Regions from separate parts of the Homo sapiens genome. Here regions 1 and 3 are each linked to region 2. The links are contacts of gene promoters, found by promoter capture Hi-C in blood cells and fetal thymus (Javierre and others, 2016). All regions are on one chromosome and are shown on one strand. Each heading gives the region's core, a stretch centred on a gene start or on the middle of the fragment in contact. The rest is flanking DNA. Distances are from core to core; before and after follow the strand shown.

Region 1 (4,142 bases), core at 1,263-3,762, 1.6 Mb before region 2:
TTAAATACAAAAGCTGGCAGAGTCGTGGGTTTTATTTTTACCTCCAGGCCTATGGGTGAAGAGGGAAGTTCCAGTGATGTTCTTCTGACTTAACAAAGAAAGCTTACAACTAATTCTGCCTTTGAGGAAACAGAGCTGTCTGTTTAAATATTCATATACCATGGCAGCAAATTATTAAGCCAGATAACCAGCCAGAATTACAGACCTTTTCAGGATTAAAGATGACTCTCTAGGATCTGGGAACCATGTCTGAAGTCAGGGGGTCTTAGAAGATTCCTTTGTCAGAAATAACATTGACAAGGGCAGTTTGACAAGCAGATTTGTATCTGCTCTGCCGTGGCTGCGGTGGCATGGAACATTTCCTTGTCCTTATCTTGATGAATTCAGAGGGTCTGAAGTTTTCAAGGGTTCTACCACTCCACAAAGAAGGTATGAAAAGCAACTTGAAGAAGCTCAAAACTTATCATTCGTAACGGAAAACAGCAGAATATAAATAGTGAGCTTATGTGGTGTTGCCACCTGCATGTACAGACAACGAGATGGGCATTATCATTATCCCCGCTTGGCGCAGGAGGAAGCGGAGGCTCAGGGAAGTTCACGACTTGGCTGGGGTCACACAGCAAGGAAGTAAGGGCTGCACTTGTGCAGATGGGGACTGTGGTCTCGGTGGAGTGTGTTGGGCTCCAGCGACGGGGCCCCAGGCTCAGCTGTTGCTTCCACTGAGCAGCTGTATTTGTTCCCTGCGGCCGCTATAATAAAAGACCAGAAACACAGTGACTACAACAGACATTTATTGTCTTACAGTTCTGGAGGCCAGAAGTCAGGAATGCGCCTCGCTGAGCTAAAATGAAAGTGATTCCCTTTCGAGCCTCTAGAGGAGAAGCCATTTCCTTGCCTTTTCCAGTTTCTGGATGCCGCCTGCACTCCTTGGCTCATGGTTCTTCCTCCAACTGCAGAGCCAGGAGTGTGGCATCTTCCACTCCCTCTCTGACTCTGATCTTCCTTCACTTATGGGGACCCATTTGATGACCTCAGGGCCATCCAGATAATGCAGGATAATCTCCCCACCCACCTCAAGATCCTGAATTTCATGGCGCCTGTGAAGTTTCTTTGCCATGTAAGGCCATGTACGCACAGGTTCCAGAGATTAGGGTGGATTTTTTTTGGGGGGTGAGAGGCACTATTCTGCCTATCACAGTGGCTTTGGCCAAAGGGTCTGACCTTTGGGATAATAGCCGTCCTCTCCACAGGGGGTTTGTTGGGAATGACAATAAAGTGATTCAGGCTTGTACTCCACAGGGAGTGACTGAGGTGCCTGCCAAGGGGCCAGTGTGTGCTGGAGCCTGGTGACCCGGTGAGAGACAAATGACTGCATCAGAACTCCTGCTTCTGCGAGGGAGGTAGTGCCCGAGGGGACTCAGAATCAGACAGATCAGGGGTTCAATCCCAGCTCTGCCTCCTCCTAGCAGCCTGAGTACGGGTGAGATCGGGGAGCAGGGACGGGCTGGAAGGGAGAAAACAAACAGATGCATTCACGTGACCTCATTTCACCTTCACCGCAGCCCTGCCAGGCAAATTTCTGTTCCCCCCAACCGCCCCGCCGTTTTGCAGAGGTGAAAACAACAGCTCAGAGAGATCAAGTGCCTTGTCTGACACCACACAGCTACTAAGTGGGGAGCTGGGATTCCCCATGCCCCAGGATTCCCAAACGGATGCCACCTACTCCACCTCCAGGGCTGTCTGCCACATCTGCGTCCTCCTAGGCTGTGGCTTCCTTAATATGTTCTTTAAATTGACTTACTGCCTTTTTTATTTAAATGCATTTCTTTTAAAATGAGACTTTATATTACTCCTATAAATGGAAAATCACAGGATTCATGGACTAGTTATGTATATTTTTATAATGCACATTAAAATGAATTTATCACCATAAAAAATGAGAAATGTTTACCCATAGACCATGTACAATTATTCCACATGCTGTCAGTGTGTTTCATCCCTCTCTTTGGGAGTTGGCTTTGCACCTGTCCTGGTTTCACCAAATCACAATGTTATGAATGGCTATCATTTATTATGGTAGGAAATCGTCAAATGGCTTCTGTGCACAATCAAATGCAGACTCCCCAGCATGGCCTCAGGGCCCTCCTGGCCCCTGGTTTCCTGATCTCCAGTTCCTCTGGTCTTGCTACTCTTAGACAAAGGAGGACTTCTCTTGGTTTTCTGCCTACCCAGCCAGAAGATCCCAGGCCATGGGCCTGTGGAGCCAAAGTTCTTAACCACTGCACTGTGTCACCTTTCTATGATGTCAGGCCTCAGCAAGGCTTATGAAGGAACAGGAACAGCCTTGAAAATGAAGTTGGGAAGGGATAGGCCAGGCCTCCCAGGAGCCCAAAGCTTGCAGAGTCCCCTTGGTCTCATTGGCACATGGAGAATGGATTGATCAAGTCCACCAATCAAGTTTTGTGGGTCTAACAGAGCAACTCCTGCCAAGTGGGAGGAGCTTAGGGACTTTCTATAACCTCTCCTGGGGCAGAAATGATGGGCTGCAGCAGTGTCCAATCCTAACTCCATGATCTCCTGGGAGGGCAGGGCTTCATGGCAGTTCCTGTCTGCTCTGCACTAGAAGCTTGGCATTGCAAAGGGGCTCAGCTGTGGAATGAAGCAGGGCTTCTTCCAGAAATGTTGCATGTACTTCCTATTCCCTTTCTTTATTGCAATATGGATAATTTATCATCTGAGGAGGGAGTAGAGATTCCAGGGTAGCTTGCCTAAGAGTTGTGGCTTATTAATTCCAACTTTTTGCAAGATCAAGGGGGAAAAGCAATCCCTGATTTTGTGTGAGTATGGGGATTGGGTCTTGAGGCCCTGAAAGTGAGGTTCGGGTCTCACAGATTGCTGTGAAGAGTTATTGACCCACCTAGAAGAGAAGCCTAGCCCAGGGCCTGGCGCACAGTTGATGGGTTTGCTTCCTGGTTATTCTTCCGTCCTTGTCTGGAGCCCTGCACGCCTCTTCGTAGCTTAGGAAGAACAAGCTTCTCCCTGCGGCTCAGGGTGAGGAAGTGGGAGAGAACACCAGCTCCAGGGAGGCTTCTAGCACCAGTCAGCCTCAGTTAAAATCCTTGCACCTTCATTGACTAGCTGTGTGACCTTGCACGAATCATTCCCCCTCTCTGTGCCTCAGTTTCTTCATCTGTAAAATGGGGATCATAATAGTACCTCTCTCAAAGGATTGAGGTGAGGATGAAAGGAGTGAATCCAGGAGCATGCCTGGAAGAGGCAGGAAATGCCTCCTAGACAATAGCTATTTTTGCAGCCAGACAGATCTGGGTTTGAATTCTGCCACCAGTGCTAACTACTGTGTGATTTGGGGCAAGTGCCTTGACCTCTCTGGACAGCTGTTTCCTCATCTGGAAATGGGCTTGGTAACAGTCCTGGCTTCCAAAGTTGGTAGTGTTCTTCTAGTAAGCAAGCTGTGTGAAACGGTGGAACCCTGGCCCTGGTGCAGAGAAGGGCATGATGACCGTGTTAGGGTCTGTCCTCTCTGGAACCCCCTCCTGGGAATGGCAGAGGGCAGTGGGGTGCTCTGAGGCAGGCTGCTGCCCTGTCCCCACTCCCCCTCCCCAGCTGCCCCGCCCCAGCTGTGACGACCTTGTCCCTGCCTGTCTAAGGGGCAGGAAGGAAGTGAGGAGGGCAGCCAGCAGCTTCCCCTTCTCTGCCCTGCTCCAGGCACCAGGCTCTTTCCCCTTCAGTGTCTCAGAGGAGGGGACGGCAGCACCATGGACCCCCGCTTGTCCACTGTCCGCCAGACCTGCTGCTGCTTCAATGTCCGCATCGCAACCACCGCCCTGGCCATCTACCATGTGGTGAGTGTGCGGGCCCCGGGTGTGTGTGCGTGCGTGCTTGTGTGAGTGTGAATGTCTGCGGTGACCCGTCATCTACGGAGCCCCACAAATGAAAGAACTCCTGCTCTCCACCTCTCTGGGGGACCCTGGGCAAATCCCTGTCCTGCTCTGGGCCTCAGTTTCCTTCTCTGTCAAATGGCTGGGGGTACCCTGGGGAGATGCCGCAAGAGTGAGGAGTAAGGGAGCTGGAATCCACTTTCCAGGCAAATGTAACTGACGTTCACTCCGAGGCTGGCTCCG
Region 2 (4,098 bases), core at 335-2,834:
CTTAAGGGGAATTGAGCAATAACTTATCAAAACTCTGACCCAAATATCCTATTTCTAGGAATAGATGATATATATAGAGAGAGAGAGAAAGAGAGAGAGAGAAATGCAAAGTTACTGCAGCAGTGTAATAACAAAAGGTTGGAACTTATTTCAATGTCCTTCACCAGGGCACTGGCTAAATAAATTACTGTGTATAAAATGGTATGAACCATAAAACTAGTCCTTTTATACTCTTAAGGAATGATTTTCAAAATATATTTTGTGTAGAACCATATGTATAGTATCCTACTATTTGTTTTATAAGGGTAAATTAACCTCCTAAAGGACATTTCAGAAACTGCCTCTGGGAAGAGAAACTAAGTGGCTGGTGGACAGCGAAGACTTTTCACTGTGTATCATTTGAACCTTGAGTTATCCTTTCAAAATATTCAAAAAACAAAAACAAGCAAAGAAACAAAACCCTTTATGGTTCTAGGTACATGGCGTTAGTGAGAAGGGAACCAATATTTATTGAGCTCTTACCATGTTTCAGACACTGTTCCAAGTACTTTCACATACACTACCCCATTTAGTGACCTGTGTAATCCTTGAGATGGGTATACATTATTCTAATTTTACAGGTTAGAAAATAGACTGGATAGGCCAGGCGCAGTGGCTCACGCCTGTAATCCCAGCACTTTGGGAGGCCAAGGCGGGCGGATCACCTGAGGTCTGGAGTTTGAGACCTGCCTGGCCAATATGGTGAAACTTCCTCTCTCCTAAAAATACAAAAATTAGCCGGGCGTGGGGGCGGGCGCCTGTAGTCCCAGCTACTCTGGAGGCTGAGGCAGGAGAATCGCTTGAACCCGGGAGGCGGAGGTTGCAGTGAGCTGAGGTCGCGCCACTGCACTCCAGCCTGGGCGACCGAGCGAAACTCGTCTCAAAAAAAAAAAAATAGGTTGGATTGTGGTCAAGTAATTTACTCGGCGTCATGCCTAGTCTAGCTCCAAAGCTCCAGCCTTCTCCGCTTCTCACACTGCTTCTATTTAAGCAGTGTCCTCTTAAAAATAATACTGGTCTCATTTATTGGGCACTTGATATGACAAAACTACTAAGTGCTTTATGTACGTATTCTCATATAATTCTCAAGACAACTCTGGAAGGTAGGAACTACTCTCCCCCTTTTACAGAAAAGATAAAGGAGGGTCCGAGACATCGCGCGTAACAAGCCCAAGGTCACGGGTACACAATCGTTTGGAAGCTAGGTTTGATTCCAAAGCTCCAGCTCCGAAATCCAAACCACACCCGGTTCAAAGGACAAAAGCACAAACGCTCGCTCGCTGGGCTCTAGGAGGTGCGGACACTTCCGGGGGAGGGGCGAAGCCAGCTGGCTGCGGAAGGCGGTGCAGGAACCCCTTTGGCGAGCTCGCGCGAGGACGTGCCGCAGCGCCGCCTGTCGATCACCTTGCCCCGCCGCACGTCGGCGCGCCCCCGGGCAAGCTCCTCCCCCAGTCCTGGCCGAGCGGGAAGCGAACGCGCGCTCTCTCCGGTTACCTTCCGCCTCGGGGAAGGGCGGGGGAAGTGGAAGCGCGCGCTCGCGAGCTGCGTGCTCGCGTACGTCGCCGGGGTTCGGCTGCGTCCGTCCCGCCGCCCGCCCGTTGCCGCCGCCGCCGCTGCCGCCGTGCTCTCGCTTTGCCCGCCGCCGCCTAAGGGGGGCTGGGGCCGGGGCCAGCCATCACTGCCGTTGCCGGGATGCCGCGGGTGTACATCGGCCGCCTGAGCTACCAGGCCCGGGAGCGCGATGTGGAGCGCTTCTTTAAGGGCTACGGGAAGATCCTGGAGGTGGATCTGAAGAACGGGTGAGGAGGGCGAAAGAGGGTCCGGCCGGGCGGGGACAGACCCCATAGGTGGTGGGGAGGCCGCGGGGACGGGAGAGGGACGCCTGGTCCGCGCGGAGCGGCTACCGGCCTGGCCAGGCTCCGCCATAGTGGCGGCGCCTCGGGGGCGCGGGTAGGCCCCGGTTCCCACTGCGCCTGCGCGGGTGGGGGTGGTGGAGGCATAATGGGAGCTGTGCTGAGGCCCTGAGTGGGACGGGGAGAAGGAAAGCCCGAGTGGGGCTGGTGCTCCGGGCAGGGGGGCACAGCTCCAGGGCGCCCGGGAGACCTGGGTTTTCCCTTCCTAGGCCCGGAACTGGGGCCCTATTCGTTTCTGGGTAGACACCAACCTTTCCCGCTCTGAGGACTACTGGAAATAAACAGGATTTCCTGCTCCCTTTCACCTCTTGCCCGGTCTCATGGATCAGACGGTCACAGCGCCGTCTTCCCCGAGGACTGGAGCCTTGGAGGGAGGCCCTTTTTAGCCGTGTGCCACGCTTTTTTGGGCGGGAGACTCCAGTTTGAGTAGTCTAGTGACAGTTTCGAAAGTATCGTCTTGCCGTGCTGAAAGCCTTCACCGTTCCCTCTGCAAGAGTAAATTAAAGTCTTAACTTCTTATCTTTAAGACTCCGTGCAGAGTTTCCACGCTGTGGTTTCCGTTTTCCAACTTACCGAAAAATTGCTTGGCCGTTGTAGAATTTGTTAGGAGAATAGTGGCCACCCTGGCTAGTATCTGCGTCTGGTTAACGCAGACGGAGACGAAATTGTTAACTTACTGCCTCCCCCAGAGTATGATCTATTACTTGTATTCTTAATCTACTTCGGCAAAAATAGTGCCAGCATGAGCTACAGGTTTTAGGGAAAACTGTTGAGGAATCAGGCCTGGAGAAAATACTCAACGGGGAAAACTGGGAACCAGATGTTAGGTAGGGCTTGGAAGGCATGGATATAAAATTAAAAGGACTGGGGTGACATTTTAGGGCACTAAACCTTGGGTGTTAGAGAACTCTTGGCTTAAAAAAGAAACTCTACTTTGCAACAGTTGTAATATAGCTACCGTTTACTCCCCAGGGTTATACTAGTAACTGACACCTGAAACATTTTGAAAGTTACCTAAGTATGTTTCACGTATGAGAAAACTGGTAGCTACCGTATTCTCAAATGATGATTTGGGTTTAAAAAGCCATTTCAAATTAATTATTAGAATCGTTTTCTTTCTGAGGACGTCTTTAGTAAAGTACTGATTTCTTTTACAGTAAAAGGCTTTAAAAACTACTCCTTTTCTACAGTAAAACGTTCAGTTCTTAAGGATATATTGAAGTGGCGGGTAGACGTTATTGTATACATACCATATATGTGAAAGTTGAAACTCCAGTTTTTTTCAGAGCCCAGCTAAATTGACAGCATAACTAACTTTTGTGGACAAAGTGTGGATTTTGAAGCCAGCCAGGCCTAAGTCAAATCCTGGTTCCACCACTTACTACGTATGGGCAAGTTACTTCTCTGAACCTGGTTGTTCATTCATGTGGAAAAGGAAGATTAGAGATAATAAATGTAAAGCATTTGGCTTAGGCAGTAAGTGGCAGCTATAATCAGAGGGATGAGGAAACATCTTTGCTTGTTGGTGTTTGATAACATAAAGCGTGTTTGGTGAGGTCTTTTCTAATGTTACTCAGGTGATAGTGTGCAGGAAATGACAAGACTGTTAATGGGAAACTGATTCATCAACCAAATGTATTGATAACCCATCAACAAAATGTCCACCACTGTGCTAAATGAATTGGGGGAGGAGGCAGAAAACAGTTCTGCTCTTGAATAAATTAAGCATTATGACATGTGCACTTTGAATTAAGAAATGTTTGCTTTCGCTTTAAACTCTAGTAAAACTTGGAATGATTTGCTTGAAAAGATGTGTTGAAATGGCTTTGAAGAATAGATTAGAGCTTGAAGTGAAGAAATTTAGGTTTCTGGGAATAGTATATGTCGTAGTTGGGGCTCAGGCATGGTGACTTGTGCCTGCAATCCCAGCTGAAGTGTGAAGATTACTTCAGGCCAGGAGTTTGAGACCAGCCTGACCCCATCTCTAAGAAAAAAATTTTTTTAATTAGCCACGCGTGGTGACACTCGCCTATAGTCCTAGCTACTTCAGAGGATGAGGCAGGAGGATCACTTCAGCCTAGGATTTCAAGGCTACAGTGAGCTATGATTGTGACACTGCACTCCAGTCTGGGTAACAGCAAGACCC
Region 3 (4,264 bases), core at 1,564-4,063, 1.9 Mb before region 2:
GATCATTTGTTTTACTTGTCAGTACCATTCCCACGTCAAGTGAGGAATACACTCCTGTAACTTTTCCCTCCTATAGCCCCCCCCCCCCCCCCCGCTGAAAAAACAAAGCCAGAAACCCACACACAGCATTACCAGAGAAGGCTTTATTCTCCCGTAACTTAGATTGTTACCTTTTATTGTTCAATTAAGAAAACACTGTTCTCAGCCCTCGATACCATTTTGCTCAATTCCTGTTATTACTGGGATTAATTAAGAATAAGATTTTATGAAGCTTTTCCTGGGTTCTGTTTTAAAGTCAGTTAACTTCTGAAACAATAGGCTTAGCATTTTGTTTCTTGAAAGCACCTAAAAACTTACTAAGACAGGCCCAACCCCAAGAAATGTGGCTTCCGATGCAGTTTTCGTAAGCAAAATAAACATTTTGACCCTTTGCTAATTTTAACTTTATAAAACACTGGGGGGCTGTTGATTCTTTATCTGGGCTCTTGGGAAACGCTCTCCGGATTCTGAACTTTGAGTTAGTGTTTTGCTTTAGCGACAATTGAATTCATTTTGTTCAAGGCCACAGCTTTTTGAAGTTGGAATTTGTTTAGTTTAGGTTTAAAATGAACTGTTTTAAGATAAATTTATGACCACAGAATGTTTGTTAAGTGTGGTAAAAATAAACACCTTTTAAACCACTAAGCATTTTAGTAAAAGGTGAGCCATGGAAATAAAGTAAACCGTGTTCCTTTGAATTCAACTCAATTAGTGATATTTTAAAAAACTTTGTAAACATTTGAAAGCTGTGAAAGAGTAGCTGGACTGAGCACTTCTAGTTGCTTAAAGTACTTATAAGGTGTCATTTGTAAAAAAATCACATTTTAAATGCTACACGTATTAGTGAGCTTTTCTGATATTTAGGATACTGAGTTTTTAATTTTTGTGCCGTATTTGCCAAAATACCACAAAACTACCCAAGATAACATGTTAATTGCTTAGGTATTTGCTCACTTTGAAACTGTTCTGCCAGGTTTTCTCTGGTTTGAGAAACTGCCTTGCCTCTTTAGGTAAAGCAGGAAGTCTTAGGGCATACAGATAGCTTTACAAAAGCCAATTGTTTCGTTTGAACATTTTTATAGGAGTCTTTTCTTTCCCCCATTCCTTTTAGAATGAAGGTGTGTTTAGTGTGCGTCAGTGATAAACTCCTCTTTTATGTGGATATTCTTTGTTAGATAACTTTTTTCTTTTAAAAATTTTTATTTGTATAATTTGTGAGGTACAAGTGTAATTTGTACATGCGTGTATTGCGTAGTGGTGAAGCCAGGGCTTTTTGTGTGTCCATCACTGGAATAACGTACATTGTCCTCCTTAGGTAATCTCTCATTATCCTTCTCTCAGCCTCCTAGATAACTATTTTGAGAAGGCTTTTATTTCAGAAAAGATTGCATTTGCTGTTTTAGGAATTCTGTTAGGGACTGGAGTTGCCTTAACTAGGGGTAACTAAATTCTAAGAGTCTTAAGCACGATGACTTTAAATTTACCAAAAACTTTTATATTTATCTCATTTTCATTAAGAAAAACCCAAAACATTGAGAGTCATAGAGGAAGGATTTCTTTCATTTTCTAGATGAGGAAACAGGTAGTTTTGTTTAGTGAAAGAACTTGGGTTTTGGAACTCTTGGCCTGCTCTAGAACAAAGATTGTTAGGTCGAGATTTCCTTTTAGAACAGAATGGGACTGTCTAGTATTAGTACTAAGAGAGTAATGAATTCTTTAAAAAACCAAGCAGGGAGGCATTAGGCTGGTTTGCACTTTTGAAAGACCGATGGTGAAACCGGGCTATGACTTTTTGGTTTTGGTACTTGAGCAGGGACTAGTGTCTAGGTTAGACTACTCCAGTACCCTGCTAAGGTTCTGATGGATTGGAATTCTTAACCTAGACTAGGCATTTCCAAATTAGGCTTTAAACAAATTACAAATTCCATTGTGTCTTCTTAGGCTGGCTTCAAAAACATGAATTTAGTTGTGAGAAGCAAATGCTACTTTATCAGAAGGTTTATTTATTCAACAGAGAGATAGTAGATTTGTTATTCATGTGTTTTTGAAGCATCACAGTGGGGGTTGGGAGAAGAGATAAAGCATTTGTAGCAGTAGACTGTTAGGCCGATGGCTTTGAAATTAGACCGTGGCTGTGGACAGGTGTGTCCTAATTGGTAACTGATTTATTTACTTTGTAGCTTTTTTTTTTTTTTTTTGAGATGGAGTCTCACTCTGTCGTCCAGGCTGGAGTGCAGTGCCTTGATCTCGGCTCACTGCAACCTCCGCCTCCTGGGTTCAAGCGATTCTTCTGCCTCAGTCTCCCGAGTAGCTGGGACTACAGGTGCGTGCCACCACACCTGGCTACTTTTTATATTTTTAGTAGAGACGGGGTTTCAGTATATTGGCCAGGCTGGTCTGGAATTCTGACCTGGAGATGCGCCTGCCTCCGCCTCCCAAAGTGCTGGGATTACAGGCGTAAGCCACCGTGTCCGGACACTTTGTAGCATTTTTTAAAAGCACCCACAGGCTGGCAAGTGTTCTATCTTAAGTACAGATGCAGTTTTTGGTTTTAAGGAACTTTAGTGTTTCATAGTAACATTTGAGGGATTCTTTGTTGGTCTTCCAGAGGAGTAGAGGATACAAATGAGACATATTGTTGAGTTACTCCTGCAAGGGGTTAGTAGAAAGAAGTAAGCTTGGGAACGATTAGGGTTTGAATCCTTTCTCTGCTACTTGCTAGTTGAATGGCCTTGGAAACATCCCATTTTCCTCCTGTACCTTAGTGTTTTCATTTGTAAAATAGAAATAATAATGGCTACCTTTCAATGCTTTTGTGATGAGACAATGTCTGCGATATATTCATTACACTATTACCGTGTTGAAGCTTCTGTTTGTTTGTTTGTTTTTGAGACAGGAACTCACTCTGTCGCCCAAGCGGGTGTGCAGCCTCCCGCTCCTGGGCTCAAATGATCCTCCCACCTCAGCCTCCCTAGTAGCTGGGACTATAGGCACATGCCACCATGCCTGGCTAATTATTTTTAGTAGAGATAGGTCTTGCTATGTTGCCCAGGCTGGTCTTGAACTCCTGGGCTCAAGCTGTCTGCCCACCTCAGCCTCCCAAAGTGCTGGGATTGTAGGTATGAGCCACCACACCCAACTGAGGCTTCTGGTTTGTATAGTGAGGCTTTCTTTTTTTTTTATAATTTAAAAAAATTATTTTATTTATTTATTTATTTTGAGACAGAGTCTCGCTCTGTCGCCCGGCTGGAGCACAGTGGTGCGACCTCTGCCTCCCTGGTTCAAGTGATTCTCCTGCCTCAGCCTCCCAAGTAGCTGGGATTACAGGCGCGTGCCACCAAGCCTGGCTAATTTCTGTGTTTTCAGTAGAGTCGGGGTTTCACCATGTTAGCCAGGATGGTCTTGATCTCCTGACCTCATGATCCACCCGCCTCGGCCTCCCAAAGTGCTGGGATTACAGGCATGAGCCACCGTGCCCAACCTCCATTGGCCTTCTTAGAGCCTTATTTTTTAATAAAATAATAGAGATGGGGGTCTCACTGTGTTGCCTAGGCTGGTCTTCAGCTCCTGGCTCAAGCGATTCTCCCTGCCTAAGTCTCCGAAGGTGCTGGGATGACAGGAGTGAGCCACTGTGCCCAGCCTGTAGTGAGGCTTTCTACACTAATATGAAGTGTTTAAATTTGGTTTGGTCTCATCCTGTTTATAGTAGTTGAAGTACTAATGGCATAATGTGATTACAGTTAATAGTTGTAAGTTACTGGTAAAAATATTAATGCTTTTAAAAATCAGTGACAACTGAGGAGAGGGCTTAGGCTAAAAGCATTCTGCTGCTGTTCTTGGTCAGAGGGTTTTATTGTTTCTTTAAGAAATATCCTATCAATATATTGGAGGTTTTATTTATTTATTTATTTATTATTTTTTTTTTTTTTACTGAAACAGAGTCTCGATTTGTCGCCCAGGCTGGAGTGCAGTGGTGCGATCTTGGCTCACTGCAACCTCTGCCTCCCGGGTTCAAACGATTCTCCTGCCTCAGCTTCCCAAGTAGTTGGGATTAAAAGTGTGTACCACCACACCCAGTTAATTTTTGTATTTCCAGTAGAGATGGGGTTTCATAATGTTGGCCAGGCTGGTCTCGAACTCCTGACCTCAAGTGATACACCTGCCTTGGCCTCCGAAGTGTTGGGATTATAGGCGTGAGCCACCTCGCCTGGCCAATATGTTGGAC

The links. The method cuts DNA at HindIII sites, captures the fragments that hold promoters and counts their contacts. A CHiCAGO score of 5 or more calls a contact.
Region 1: a contact is called between a fragment that was not itself captured here and the fragment with the promoter of SRSF4 in region 2, in 1 of 17 cell types (megakaryocytes). The highest score is 5.5, in megakaryocytes.
Region 3: a contact is called between a fragment that was not itself captured here and the fragment with the promoter of SRSF4 in region 2, in 1 of 17 cell types (total B cells). The highest score is 6.5, in total B cells.

The regions. Positions count from the first base shown.
Region 1 is chr1:30,757,380-30,761,521 of GRCh38, reverse strand. It overlaps LAPTM5 (lysosomal protein transmembrane 5), which reads left to right and starts at 3,748. Exons shown (of 8, transcript NM_006762.3): 1 at 3,748-3,863. The coding sequence starts at 3,777. RefSeq lists enhancers at 2,599-2,668, 3,737-4,016. The HindIII fragment of the contact is 232 bases long and covers 2,397-2,628 here.
Region 2 is chr1:29,179,386-29,183,483 of GRCh38, reverse strand. SRSF4 (serine and arginine rich splicing factor 4) reads left to right here and starts at 1,584. Exons shown (of 6, transcript NM_005626.5): 1 at 1,584-1,838. The coding sequence starts at 1,732. It also overlaps a transcript of MECR not described here. RefSeq lists enhancers at 256-893, 1,236-1,465, 894-1,531 and silencers at 1,536-1,745, 1,796-1,985. The HindIII fragment of the contact is 7,304 bases long and covers 1-4,098 here.
Region 3 is chr1:31,060,593-31,064,856 of GRCh38, reverse strand. The region is part of intron 1 of PUM1 (pumilio RNA binding family member 1); the gene reads left to right. Among named protein-coding and RNA genes, the nearest start is that of PUM1, 3.0 kb to the left of the region's middle. The HindIII fragment of the contact is 189 bases long and covers 2,719-2,907 here.